2 separate regions of the Homo sapiens genome follow, and region 1 is linked to region 2. Evidence: promoter capture Hi-C in 16 types of primary human blood cells and fetal thymus (Javierre and others, 2016). All regions are on one chromosome and are shown on one strand. Each heading gives the region's core, a stretch centred on a gene start or on the middle of the fragment in contact. The rest is flanking DNA. Distances are from core to core; before and after follow the strand shown. Region 1 holds the start of ZNF471 (zinc finger protein 471). Region 2 holds the start of ZNF571 (zinc finger protein 571).

The links. Contacts are between HindIII fragments. The CHiCAGO score rates a contact against its expected background, and 5 or more counts as called.
Region 1: a fragment that was not itself captured here is called in contact with the fragment with the promoter of ZNF571 in region 2 in 1 of 17 cell types (total B cells); the score reaches 5.3 in total B cells.

The regions. Positions count from the first base shown.
Region 1 is chr19:56,502,888-56,510,030 of GRCh38, reverse strand. It overlaps ZNF471 (zinc finger protein 471), which reads right to left and starts at 2,176. Exons shown (of 5, transcript NM_020813.4): 1 at 2,111-2,176. LOC124904776 (a long non-coding RNA gene) reads left to right here and starts at 6,281. Exons shown (of 3, transcript XR_007067352.1): 1 at 6,281-6,381. The HindIII fragment of the contact is 2,134 bases long and covers 2,604-4,737 here.
Region 2 is chr19:37,590,143-37,597,388 of GRCh38, reverse strand. It overlaps ZNF571 (zinc finger protein 571), which reads left to right and starts at 2,597. Exons shown (of 4, transcript NM_016536.5): 1 at 2,597-2,648. It overlaps ZNF540 (zinc finger protein 540), which reads right to left and starts at 2,513. Exons shown (of 5, transcript NM_001172225.3): 1 at 2,294-2,513. RefSeq lists enhancers at 2,036-2,085, 2,316-2,435, 2,476-2,675, 2,272-2,954, 2,906-2,955 and 2 more. The HindIII fragment of the contact is 14,201 bases long and covers 1-7,246 here.

The DNA.
Region 1 (7,143 bases), core at 2,421-4,920, about 19 Mb before region 2:
AGTCTCTCCCAATCACTGAACTCTCAGTCTAGTCTCTTGCTTTTACTCAGACACACACATGATCTTTCTCAGACTCCAGGGAGCCTCATACTTGTTCATCTTTCACACAGGCACATCTATTTCTCTCACACATTGATATACCCTGGTCTCACACTCTGGATTCTCACAATCCAGTCCCTGATAACACACTCAGGTGACAAAGAGGAAAAACAAACTGTTTCTCCTACTCCACTCACACAACACAAAACAGTTCTAAGACCAGATGTGTGGGGATCTACACACACACACACACACACACACACACACACACACACACCAGGCAAGCAATAAGTTCTTCAGTGAATACCAGGTGGGTGACCTCTAGGGCAACCCAGTGAATACCAGGTGGGTGACCTCTAGGGCAACCCAATTCTGACACTATCTACCTGGAGACAGCATAAGATCCCACAGGTTGAGGGCTCAGCCCTACAAAATTGCTCCCCACTTCCAATGCCAGTTGCAAACCCCAGGTTGTTTTACTTGTGCTTCTGACTAGCTATAAATCGGGGTTCCTATGACCCCCTCCTTGCGTTCAATTAATTTGCTAGGGCAGCTCACAGAACTTAGGGAAACACGTTTGTAGTAATAAAGGATATTACAAAGGATGCAGGTGAAGAAATGCATAGGACAAGGTTATATAGGAAGGGGCTCATCCTACAGGAACCTCCAGTGTTCAGCTATCTGGAAGTTTGATGAACCCAGTCCTTTTGGGTTTTTATGGAAGCTTCATAATGTAGGCATGACTGGTTAAATCACTGACCACTGATGATCAGTTTAACCTGTGGCTCCCTTTCCTTTCCCTGGAGATTGAGGGATGGGGCAGGTAATCCCAACCCTCTAATCCTGCCTAGATTGTTCTTGTGACCATCCCTTACCGTGATCAACCTACAGGCTGCCAGCCCACCAATCATTAGCATGCAAAAAGACACTTAATACTTTGGAGATTCCAAGGATCTTAGAAGTCGTAAGCCAGGAAACATAACTTTGTCCTATACTTTGATCGCCTCCCTCTCTCTCACAAACTCATAACAACATAACCTAGTCTCACTCTTTGGACTCTCACAGTTTAGTCTCTTTCTCTCTCTCATACACACACACCAGCCTCTCAAGGAGCCTCACATAATGACTGGTCTTTCACACACAGCCACGTGCTCATCTCTCTCACACTCACTGGTCTCACGCTATGTTGTCTCTCACACACGAACACACCCTGGTCTCACACTCTGGTCTCTCTCAGTCTGTCAGACACACATAACACGGCCTCACACACTGACGGGTCTTTCACCCAAAACACCCATTTCTCACACTCACTGGTCTCCCTTTCACACATTAACATACCACAGTCTCACACTCTGTTCTTGCACAGTCTAGTCTCGCATACATGGTGATTCTTCTCTCTCTCGAACACACACCGGCCTCTCATTGAGCCTCACCCACCGACCGACCGGCCTTTCACACACAGGCACACGCCCATCTCTCACACTCACTGGTCTCTCACACTCCATCCAGCCCGTCTCACTCTCTCACACGAATACATCCTGGTCTCACGCTCTGGACACCTGGTCTGTTACACACTTACACACCCACACACCTCGCAACCTCTCACTGAGCTTCACACGCTCTCTTTCAAATGCAGGCACATCCCTATCTCTCTCACACTCACTGGTCTCTCACACTGGCCCGTCTCGCTCTGTCACACACGAACATACCCTGGTCTCACACTGGACTCTCGGTCTGTCACACACACACACACACACACACAGAAACCACACCCTCTCACGGAGCCTCACACTCTGACAGATCTTTTACACACAGGCACACCCCCATCTCTCCCACAGCTCACTCCAGTGGTCCCGCCGCCCCAAGCCGCCCCGAACGCCCAGCAGCCCCGAGCCGCGGCCTCCGCCCCGCAGACTCGAGTACGCGCGCCCCGCTGGCCTCTGGGAAATGTAGTCGTCCTGGGGACAGAGGACGCGGCTGGGCCTTCGCGACCCGCGTCGGAGCCGCCCGCCTCGCCTGCCCTTCCTGGCCCAGCCCTCGAGCTCGGACTCCCAAACCACCCAAAACAAACCCCCGGCCTCGTCTGGCACCCAGACGCTCTCATCCGAAGGACTCCGTGAGTCGACGCTGGAACCCCCCATCGCGCAGGCGCCAGCCTCTCTCCAGGGGTCGGACGAGAGGGGCGGAGACAAGGCGTGGCCTAGTGTTGAGGGGATTGTCCTCGGGCTGCTGAAGGAGTGAGAGGGACCTTAGAGCAGAGCGGGCGGTGCCTGCGCAGTGCGTGATTACGCGAGCCGGGCGTGGCCCAGGGTTCCGGCGGGTAAGAGCAGGAGTGTGCGCAGGCGCAAAGATTGCGCTCTCCCCCTCTCCTCGCCTAGAGACCAGAAGCGTCCCTAGTTACTAGTTCCTGGGGCCTGGGAGGGAAACGCGCGACGGCTGAGCCTTCGGTGTGAGTACGCGTGGGGCTTTGTGACGCTGTCTGTGCCTCTGTGATCGCGATGTCATTCGGAGCGCGGCCTTCTGTGCCAGTCCGTGGGAGTGTCATTATCTTTCTGTGTTAAGCTTATTTTGGAATAAGACAGCGACGAGGAACCCCGACCGTGTTGTGACTCTGGCGAATTAATACCTCTTTCAGCTGCAAATGGGAATGTCACTGATCAGAGGCAGTGAATAACACGACGTTTTTGGAACCAATCTGCTAGGCTTGAACCGCGTTCAGCCCCTTAACAAAATGGAAATGGTCCCCGTTTTAGGGGACTAGCCCTGACTAGGAGAACTGTAGAATTAGTATTGGAAGGTGAGACAAATAAGGAAAAGCAATTCAGGGGGATACAGCAGAGAAAAAAAAATCCCTGTCCTCTTATTATGTAATTTACTTTGAAGCGGAGAGAGACAAGCCACAAATTCATGAGTTAGATAAACAGTCTGATGAACAGTAAAAAGGGCTATGGAGAAATATAACTCAGAGAAGGTTGTATCGTATACATTTTTTCTATTGTCTCTTATAATGTCTTAACATGTCAAAAAAACCTGTCTGCAGCAGACACCAGCCAGGTGACCGCTACTCCAATTCAATTCTGACGCTACCTGGAAAACATCAGATCCTACAGGTTAGACAGCTCAGTCCCAAAAGACTGTCCCCCACTTCCCATGCCAATTCCAAACTCCAGATTGTTGTACCTGTGTTTCAGAGAGATGTGCTATAAATTGGGGCTCCCACAGCCGGCTCCTTGGGTTCCATTAGTTTGCTAGAGCAGCTCACAGAACTCAAGGAAACACTTATGTTTACTGGTTTATTATAAAAGATATTTTAAAGGATACAAATAGCCAGATGAAGAGACATGTAGGGCAAGGTCCGAGAGAATCCCTAGTGCAGGAACTTCTGTGCCCGTGGAGTTGGGGTGCACCACCCTCCCAGCACGAGGATGTGTTTTTGTCTACCTTCTTGGAAGCCGCTTGAACTCAGGCCTTTTCGGTTTTCAAGGTTTCATTATGTAGATGTGATTGATTAAATCATTGGCCACTGGCGATCAACTTAATTTTCAGGCTCTCTCTTTTCCCAGAAGTAGAGGGTGGAGCTGTGAGTTCCAGTCCTCTGAGCACATGGCTGGTTCCTCTGGCAACTAGCCACCACTCCCCCCAAATATTGGGATTATCTTGAGAGTTTCCAAAAATCACCTCATTAACATAAACTCATGTGTGGTTGAAATACTGTCTTTCACCTTTATGGCTCTGGAGCTGTTCTGGAGCTTTTTCAGGAACCAGGAACAAAAGGCCAGATATTTTAACAAAAGATACTTTATTGCTGCAGTCATTTAGGAAATTAAAAGAGCTGTAGGAACTGAGAGCCATGAACTGTACCTTTCTTTCTAACTCCACATTCAGTGATGTCATATTGGTAGATTGAAATCCACCACAAGGGGACTATTTACAGTATGGAAATACAGTCTACATCGCTAAAGGATGGAGATACATTCTGAGAAATGGGTTCTTAGGCAATTTCCTAAGAACCTTGTTGTGCAAACATCATAGAGTGTACTTACACAAACCTAGATTGTGTAGCCTACTACACACCCACACTCACTCAGACTGGGACAACTTAGACATACCAGTTAACTTACTGTGCACATCTTTGGGATGTGGGAGGAATCTGGAGTACCCAGAGAAAACCCATGGAGACATGGTGAGACTAGTCAGATTGCATTAGGACCCACCCTAACGACCTCATTTCAACTTAATTAACTCTGTAAAAATCCTATATCCAAATACAGTCACATTCTGAGGTACTGGGAGTTAGGACTTCAACATGCAAAATTTGGGGCAGACAAAATTCAACCAATAACAAGAGATTATTTTGATTCTTCTGTCCTCATTCATCCCACCAAGGAAGTAAGGGGTATTTCCATTATCATACTATATATTAAATTATCATTACATTACATATATAATGTTTTCTTTATCTAATTTTTACTTTATATATACCACATTTTTGTTCATGGGCCATCAAAGGTATTATCTCACATAATTCTTGTAAAAATAAAATTGAATAACTAACTTTACAGTTGAAGATTTAAACAATAAGGGACTTTTTCCAAAGCCACACATCTAATAAGTTTCAAAGGTATTACTCTAATTCAAGTTTCTTCTTTCCAAATTCAGAACTCTTTCCATCCTGTAACAGTGCACTATTTTTAAGCTTAACTCCTTTCTGAAGAATATCAAATTTAACAACAGTGTTGGTGACCAGGTGAATTTGGATTACAAATTAATTTCTGGGACAGAATATGATATTCTCAACTTTTGGAACTTCAGGTGAGAGTTGACCAGTTTTCCCCACAGGCTCCATGTGGTCAACGTTATTTGTTTAGAATTGGAAATGGCCTTGTATGACACTGGATCCAACTTATCCTAGCTTGGGGTCAGCTTTATTAATTCTAACAAACTCTTTTTTGTTTGTTTTGAGAAAATGCAAAGTTTGTTTAATCTCTTCAGGTTTCACAACCAGTGGTAGCATAGTGAGTTTATTCACGCCATCATGTTGAATTTTATAAAAGAATCTTACATATGGTTGACTGCTAACATCTACTTGCTTAGTCCCTGAGATTTGCTTATATGGGATAGAGTAGGAATTCCTACAAAAAGAAAGAGAGGTCTGAAAGATAAAATTCCTGGAGTAGCACTGAGTCAGAGTCTCTGGCAGAATCCCAACAAACTCACAGTTCCTGATTTACAGCCCAGGGATTCTTAAACAGTGGTGCCCAAGTGTAGTAACATCATTTGATTGTCCAAACATTAGTTAGCCTCTTCCCTGCCTTATATTATAATGTTCTTCAGGGCAGAAATGACCCGTATCTTGTCCTCTGTTCCTTCTACAGTGTCTAAGTAGATGTCAAGCACATAGTGGGTTATCAATACATTTTGTTAAATGAATGAATTAAAGAAGGACAAGCTATAGCCAAAACTTTAATGGGAGTTTGATGTTTTTTGCCTTTTGCAAGAATCTTGAAGCAAGAAGAATGGATACATTTATTCTTATTATCTCTCTTTTTCATTTAAGATTGTTTACCTAGTGAGAAATCCCAGAGATATAGTTACTTTTGGTTATTATTTCTGGAGAATGAGGATGGTCAAAAATACGGAGTCATTTAAATAATATTTGGAATGGTTTCTTCAAGGATATGGTGAGTCTGACTCTAAATATGGGTTCTTGGCCAGGTGCAGTGGCTCACACCTGTAATCCTAGCACTTCGGGAGGTCGAGCTGGGAGGACTGCTTCAGCTCAGGAGTTTGAGACTGGCCTGGGCAAAATGGTAAGACCTCGTCTCTTCTAAAAATCAAAAAAATTAGCTGGACATGCTGGCCCATGCCTGTAGTCCCAGCTGCTCAGGTGGCTGAAGTGGGAGGATTGCTAGAGCCCAGGAATTCAAGGCTGCAGTGAGCCATAGTCACACCACTGCACTCCAGCCCAGGCAACAGAGCAAGACCCTGTCTCAAAAAAAAAATGGATTCTTCCAGGTGCAGTGGCTCACGCCTGTAATCCCAGCACTTTGGGAGGCTGAGGCAGGAGGATCACCTGAGGTCGGGAGTTCGAGACCAGCCTGACCAACATGGAGAAACCCTGTCTCTACTAAAAATACAAAATTAGCCGGGCGTGGTGGCTCATGCCTGTAATCCCAGCTATGGGAGGCTGAGGCGGGAGAATCGCTTGAATCTGGGAGGCGGAGGTTGTGGTGAGCCGAGATCACGCCACTGAACTCCAGCCTGGGCAGCAAGAGCAAAACTCTGTCTCAAAAAAAAAAAAAGGATTCTTGAAGGGGTAGTGGAGTTTCTGCACCTCAACAGGTATTACTGTCTCACAGTTTAAATGAATGTTGCCATCCAAACTTCTAAGTGTTGTTAAATATCCGATACCTCCAGTTAGCAACAGAAGCTCAGTCAACGTGCTTTGTCCATACAAATTATTCTAAGTACTATGAACATTAAAAAAGATAACTTATGACATTCAAAATAAGAGGAGTGTAATTCACACTACACTGAGATACCATTTCTTACCTATCATACTGAGAAGTGTATTCATTTTTTTATCTCCGCTGTAACAAATTACCATAAACATAGCAGTTAAAGCAAAACAAAACAAAAAAATTATGTTGTGTAGTTCAGAATTCCAAAATATACTTTATGAGCTAAAATTAATGTCTGGGCCTAGCTGCCTGCCATTCCTGAGGCTCCAGGAGAGAATCTACTTCTTGCCTTTGCTGGCTTCAAGAGCAGTGGTCCTCAACCATTTTGGCACCAGGGATGGGATTTCTGGAAGATGGATGGGGCAATGGTTTCAAGGTGAAACTGTTCCACTTCAGGTCATCAAGCATTAGTTAGATTCTCATAAGAAGCGTTCAACCTAGATCCCTCACATGCGCAGTTCACAATAGGGTTCACGCTCCGGTGAGAATATGCTGCCACTCATCTCACAGGAAGCAGAGCTCAGGCGGTGACGTTTGCTCGCTGCTCAACTCCTTCTGTGTGGCCTAGTTTCTAACAGGTCACAGACTGGTACCGGTCTGCGGCCCAGGGGTTGGGGACTCCTGTTCTACAGGCTGCCCTCAT
Region 2 (7,246 bases), core at 1,348-3,847:
CCATGATGGCCTTTATCATTGCAAAATTATACTTGCACACTGGGATCCCTTTTCCTAGCCTGAACTGGAACTCCCACAATCCTCAGGGCTCACCACTCCCCATTTCCCTCAATCAGAAGAGTCCCCAGGGTCCCTGCAGGACATCATTCACCCTCCCTTCTCCCTCAGTACCCAAACTAGAGGGAGAAGTAAATTTATGGCCCTGGAAGCAATAAAAAAAAAATCAACTTTTATGTGATGCATACCTTATATATAGCTATTTAATCCTTAGAACAGTTCTACAATGTCATTATTATCTCCACTTCAACATCAGAAAAACAGAAACCTAAATCCACTGTTAATAAACAAGACATCTGAGTTCTGAATCCACAATTCTCCAACTACAAAGCCAGTTCTTTTTCAACTGTGCTCTTGTCACTGATACCCAGAATTTCTTATTACGCCTAATAAAACCCAAGCGTGAATAATGACTTGGGTTTAATGACTAAAAGCTATTAAATGTTGCTACTTATTAAGATAATATACGTTAAAGTGGCAAATAGCATTTTATATTTACAACACGGGAACATTGAATAGACTGATAATAACATGTTAAACTGGAGTAAAATAGATGCCCTCACGCCATGTTATACACTGGTGCCACCTTAAAGAGGGTAAATTAGAAATTTATATTAGCAGAATTTAATAATATGAGCCAGATGTTTCAGTAATCCCACTCCTATGACCCTGTCTAAGGAAAATAATTATATATGTTCACTAGGATATATGCAGACAGGTGCAGATAGACTAATTTTAAAATGGAAAAAGCTAGATACAAACATAAATTAGACTTCAATAAAGAACAGGTTAAATAAATTCTAGTGTATCCATATAATAGAAAATAAAGTAGCCATCAGAAATAATATAGATTGGGAGTCTGCAAACTTTTCCTGCAAAGAACCACATAATAAATATTTCAGGCTTTGTGGGCCAGCTGGAGGATCCCTTGAACCCAGGAGTTCGAGACTGCAGTGAGCTATAACTGCACCACTGCACTCCAGCCTGGGTGAGACAGTGAGAGCCTGTCTCTTTAAAACAAACAAATACAGTATCTGCAAAGTGCAATAAAATGATGCACAATAAAATGAGGTATGCCTACATTATCATTAATGTTGACGCGAATATCTTCAAACAAGAGGGAAGAAAGTGCATTTGTCTATAAAAGGGCAACACAACAGATCCTCGAGGTGATGGAAATGATCTATCTTGACTATCAATGTCAACATCCTGGTTGTCATATTATACTACAGTCCTGCAAGATGTTGTCATTGGAGAAGACTAAGTTGAAGATAACACACAATGTCTCTATTATTTCTTACAACCTCATATGAATCTACAATCATCTCAAATTTAAAAAAAAATTTAAGGAAGTTTTAAGAATTTCATTTTCAAATATTTGCTAGATGAATTAAGTTTTTACCCCCTTCAAATCTTGAAGGCAAATTAATGCTCCAGGTTGTACTGTTCAATAGGAAGACTATTAGCCATATATAGCTGTTTACATTTAGATTTATTAAAATTGAACACAATTTAAAAAATTCGTTCCTCAGTCAAACCAGCCACATTTCAATTTCTCAATAGCCATATGTAGCTAGTGGCTACTATATTGGAGAGCACAGATATAAAAAATGGAACTCAGTTTTGCAGAAATTCCTATTAAAAAGCATTGTTCCAAAGCGTTACACGACTGACACCCTCACTTTACAGGTGAGAAAACTGAAGCCAGGAGATATCACTATAATACAGCGCTGCACACAATCGTGCTCATTCTCACCATATTATGCTCACACACTTCTTTCCCCACATTCACTGCCACAGGCGAACTCTCAATGAATCATTCACTACATTTATATAATTTCATGGGAATCTATTTTAAATTCATGACCATGCAAAGAAAAATCAATTTCTTACAGGTTATAAGATACTCAGTCGCAGGCTGAATCTGATTAAACAGACATCAGTCACCCTCAAAGCTATAATCAAACCATTCCCAAGACCCTTCCGCACACAATACTAAATGCGCCACTAATAGCCTCAAGCATAATCTGACGCACATCACACAGGCATGGCCACTACCCACTCTGCACCCACAGAGGACACTCGGACACGCGCGCGCACAGACCCACACACACACGCACACACACACACATGGCCGCAAAGAATGCGTCACACTTCCGAACCCCGTTGAGCAGCAACCCGGTATCGTGGCCACTGCGTCACGGCCAGAGCTGTCAGAGAGAAATCCAGACCTTACCTGACAGCCTTTTGCAGCTCTTCTAGCCCGGGATGACATTCCCCTGAAGGCACCACGGCAAGACTCAACCTCTTTGTGTGAGATTCTCTGGAATTTCTGGGGCGTTACTTGAGTATAATGAAATAGGGTAGGCTCGGACCATAGTAGGGTAAGTCCCACAGTTCGAGCAAGGGAGCCTCAGGGATCGTTCTGTTCTGGAGCGCCGGACCCGATCTTAGCTGCTGGGCCTGCGCAGACACGATCCGGCCGGTTTCCAGTTGTAGACTACATTTCCCGAAGGCCCCCGCGTCGCTGCGCAACGTCGTACACTTACGCTGTTATGTCTTGACGCACGGAGCTTGTCTGCGCCGGCCAGGTGAGTGGGCGGCCTCACCGGGAACCGCTCGCAGCTTTTGGGTTGCTTCATCGAAAAAGTAGTTCTTGTATGGTGCTGGGAATACCGGTGTCCTGGCTGGGGCTCGGTGCTGACAGGAACGGGACGGTGCTCTGGCTAATTACTTATGGAAGTCGGCCTTGCGCTTGCGGAGGGGTGTCGGCACCGTCACTTTGGTTCTGGCAGTGGCGGGGGTGTGGTGCTGCTAGTTGTGTTCCTCCGCACCGAATTTATGAGTGTGCCCCTGGAGCCCCTGCCGCGGACAAAATCGGCACCATAACTTTGGGATAGGGAGGCTAGAAGGAGGCGGGTGTTACTAGTAGTGTTCCTCCGCCCTGGACGTGTGCGTGTGCGCTTGTGCGGCCGCGGGGTGGGCTCACCTGCCGCCTGTTAATGCTCCTAGCGCTTGGCCCCTCCCGGGCCGCAGTACTCCTCGTGTGACACGGACATCATTAAGCCAGCTGAGAATCGTGCGGTTACAGCTGCTGCAGTTTCTTTGCAGAGTAAGAGGCTCTTTTTGAAGTTTCCCTGATGGTGAGGCTTTACCCCTGGAAGTGTCTTAGGAAGAAGACCACTGTTAAAGATGTCCTATTCTAGCTTGACAGCCCTGTGGGGAAGACTAATCCCTTTCTAGAGGTTGGTGTTATCCTAAATTGTTTCGTCTGCTCCGAGAGCTCTGATGTTCTATGATGCTTATTTCTTTTCTCGGTTCTGCGTTTTCCAAGAGAGGCACCCAGAGGAAAAGAATATCGCACTTCTGAAAGTCTTGTGTGAAGTTCCTGTTTTCTTTCTAACCTCAAATTTCTTCCTTTCCGAAACGTTTTCTACCTCCAGCAACATCTTCCTAAGGAAGAACCAGCCATGCTAGTGACTGGTCCTTAGGCACCCCATAAATGATGCTGCGGGGATGGGATCATCAGTTTAGCTCTACTCCCCAGCCACACTACACCTCTCCTTTCCACCCAATGATACAGCAGTCCTTTCTGGTCTAAGATTTTTTTGTTTGTTTGTTTGCTTTTTGAGACGGATTCTCGCTGTGTCGCCCTGGCTGGAGTGCGGTGGTGCGGTCTCGGCTCACTGCAAGCTCCGCCTTCCGGGTTCACGCCATTCTCCTGCCTAAGCCTCCCGAGTAGCTGGGACTACAGGCGCCCGCCACCATGCCCGGCTAATTTTTTGTGTTTTTAGTAGAGACGAGGTTTCACCGTGTTAGCCAGGATGGTCTCGATCTCCTGACCTCGTGATCCACCCGCCTGGGCCTCCCAGAGTGCTGGGATTACAGGCGTGAGCCACCGCGCCTGGCCTGGTCTAAGGTTTTGATGAAAAATAACTGTACTTTCTGGGGGAAATTTGAAGAGTTTTAAAATTTTAACTTTATTGTGGATGTTTTCAAGCAGGCTAAAGAATAATACGAACCCCAACATGTTCAACACCTAGCTGTAATTAAAAACATTTGTAAATACCTTTGTATCAATCCTTCCCCGTTTTTTCCTATAGTATTTCAAAATTGTATTTTATCCTCTTATAAGCATATATTACCAAAAAGGACATTATATTTTAAAATAACCATGATGCTGTTATACCAACATAAAAAAAAAAACTAACAATAAGTTTAAAACAATAAATTTGTTTCTTATGTTGGTGTAACAGCGTGGTGGTTATTTCATAATCTTGTATACCCCCATATTCAGATTTTCCCAATTATTTCAAAGACATATTTTTACAATAGGTGTGTTCAAATCTGGATCCAGATAGAGTCCACACATTGCATTTGGTGGCCAAACCTGTTAAACTTACTTAATGCATGATAGTTTCCCTCCTGTGTTTTGTTTTGGTTTAATTGGTGCTGTTGATTTGTAGAAAAACTAGATCATCTGTCCCGTAGAATATTCTGTATACTGCTTTTAGCTAATTGCTTCTTTGTACTGTCTTATAATTTGTTTTCCGTTCCTTCATATTTCTGTAAACAGGCAGTTAGATCTAGAGGTTTGATGGAATTTGGATCAGATTTTCCCTAAATCACCTTTAATTCATAGTTGGTGCTGTGTACTTCCTATTACATCACATCATGAGGCCCTTACAGTCTGATGTCCCACTTTCAGTGATGTCATATTGATGTGTTTAAATGCTGTCCATTTAATCCTTTCCTTTTTTTCACCTAAAGCATGCATTCTCAATGAGGGTGGAGGATATCACCTTCCAAGTGGGTGAAACTTGGTTTTTGAGAAGGAAGAGGACAAAAACTCATAGGTATTACAATGATCTGTGGTCCTCCAAAGGGCCACAGTACATAAACATATATACAGTATATCTATGGTAATAAAATTTCATGAGAGTGGTGGCTATTAGAGAAAAGTATCTAAAAAGGTTCCTAGGGATATGACCGTGAAAAATTTTAGAAGGATTGAGAAGCACTGACCTAAAGGTTATAACGTCCACTTATGATTGATACCAAGATCCATTCTTTATTTTTTTTTCCTCACTCTGTCGCCCAGGCTGGAGTGTAGTGGTGTGATCTCAGCTCACTGCAGCATCCACCTCCCAGGTTCAAAAGGTTCTTCTGCCTCAACCTCCCGAGTAGCTGGGATTACAGGCATGTGCCACCACACCTGGCTAATTTTTGTATTTTTAGTAGAGACGGGGTTTCACCATGTTGCCCAGGCTGGTCTGCAACTCCTGACCTCGAGTAATCCACCCACCTCAGCTTCCCAAAGTGCTGGGATTACAAGTGTGAGGCACCGCGCCTGGCCCATTCATTAACAGTTATATATGGTGATTAAAAAAAAATTCTCTCAATTCCTCCTGTATTCATTAGTTACAGTTCTTCTATATATAAGAACTTTTTTTCATCAAGTATTTGGTTATCTTAAAATACGGTTCATGGCCATGTGTGGTGGCTCACGCCTGTAATCCCAACACTTTGGGAGGCCGAGGCAGGCGAATCACCTGAGGTCGGGAGTTTGAGGCCAGCCTGACCAACATGGAGAAACCCCGTCTCTACTAAAAATACAAAATTAGCTGGGCATGGTGGCACATTCCTGTAATCCCAGCTACTCGGGAGGCTGAGGCAGGAGAATCATTTGAACCCGGGAGGCCGAGGTTGTGGTGAGCCGAGATTGCGCCATTGCACTACAGCCTGGGCAACAAGAGTGAAACTCCATCTCAAGATAAATAAATACAGTTCATATGGAAAGGCAGAGTAATTGATTTGATTCTTTCCCTTTATATATTTTCAGAGAAATGAGTTGGTGCCCTACAACCTTCTAAGGAGTCCCAAAAGGGAGTGTCTGTTTTGAATACCATATGTTTCGAACTATTGTGATCATTATTCTTTTTTATATCAAACTGCTCTTTTTTAAGCCAGTGGTAGTCCTTTCCAGGCAGTTCTGTGTCTTTCTGTCATGATTCTAGTAGAGTTGATAGCTTATTTGCTTTCTGGCAGAACAAATGATCCCAAGATCAACTTCTACATTTCCTGTGCCAGCCCTGAAATGAGCCATTTCTCTAAGGAGTTCTGATTCCTCTTGTGGTATACAGTGTACAGTGACCACTGTCTGGGCATTAGAGTTTCTCATTGCCATAAGGCTGTCGTTTATTCTAGGCCATTTCAGGGAACAAAGCTAATAACTTGTTTTTAAAGTATAAATCATGAATCATGAATTTATAATAATAGTTCAGACAAATTACAGAGTATTTTCTTGTTTGATTTTATACTTGTATCTCTGTTTTATGCTAACAATCTTGGTTGCTAAAACATTAATATAATTTACGTTCTTTATTCTAAAATATAATTGTTTGAAAACAACAGTAACTGTCACTACTGTTAAGATAGAGAATGCATTTTAGATTTCTTTTGGTTTTTATGTTTTGCTATATTTAAGGTTCATGGATTACATTTGGTTATGCCTCTTTAGTCTCTTAATTAAAAATCAGTACTCACATAGCATTGGTTTTTTAAAATTTTTATTTTGATATAATATTACACTTACAGAGAAGTTGCAAAAATAATAGAAAAAACTGTCCTATGTCCTTACATATTTACCAGTTTTTAACATTTTGCTTTTTTGTTTGCTAATTCTCTCTACATATATACTTCTGAACTACCTGATAGTAATTTTCAGACATCATTTTCCTTTATCTATAATTATATTAGTGTATTTTCTGAGCACAGGGGACTATAACTATAGTTCATTTATTAAAATGAAATGTAGCAGAGATGTAATAATTGTCTAATCCAGAGTTCATAGAAAAATTTCACCAATTGTTACAATTTTGTCCTTATAGCTTTTTTTTTCTTCTTCTTTTTTTTGAAACGGAGCCTCACTCTGTCCCCCAGGCTGGAGTGCGGTGGCGAGATCTTGGCTCACTGCAAGCTCCGCCTCCTGGGTTCACGCCGTTCTCCTGCCTCAGCCTCCCAAGTAGCTGGGACTACAGGTGCCCACCACCACGCCCAGCTAATTTTTTTTTATTTTTATTTTTTTTTACTAGAGACAGGGTTTCACTGTGTTAGCCAGGATGGTCTTGATCTCCTGACCTCGTGATCCACCCGCCTTGGCCTCCTGAAGTGCTGGGATTACAGGCAT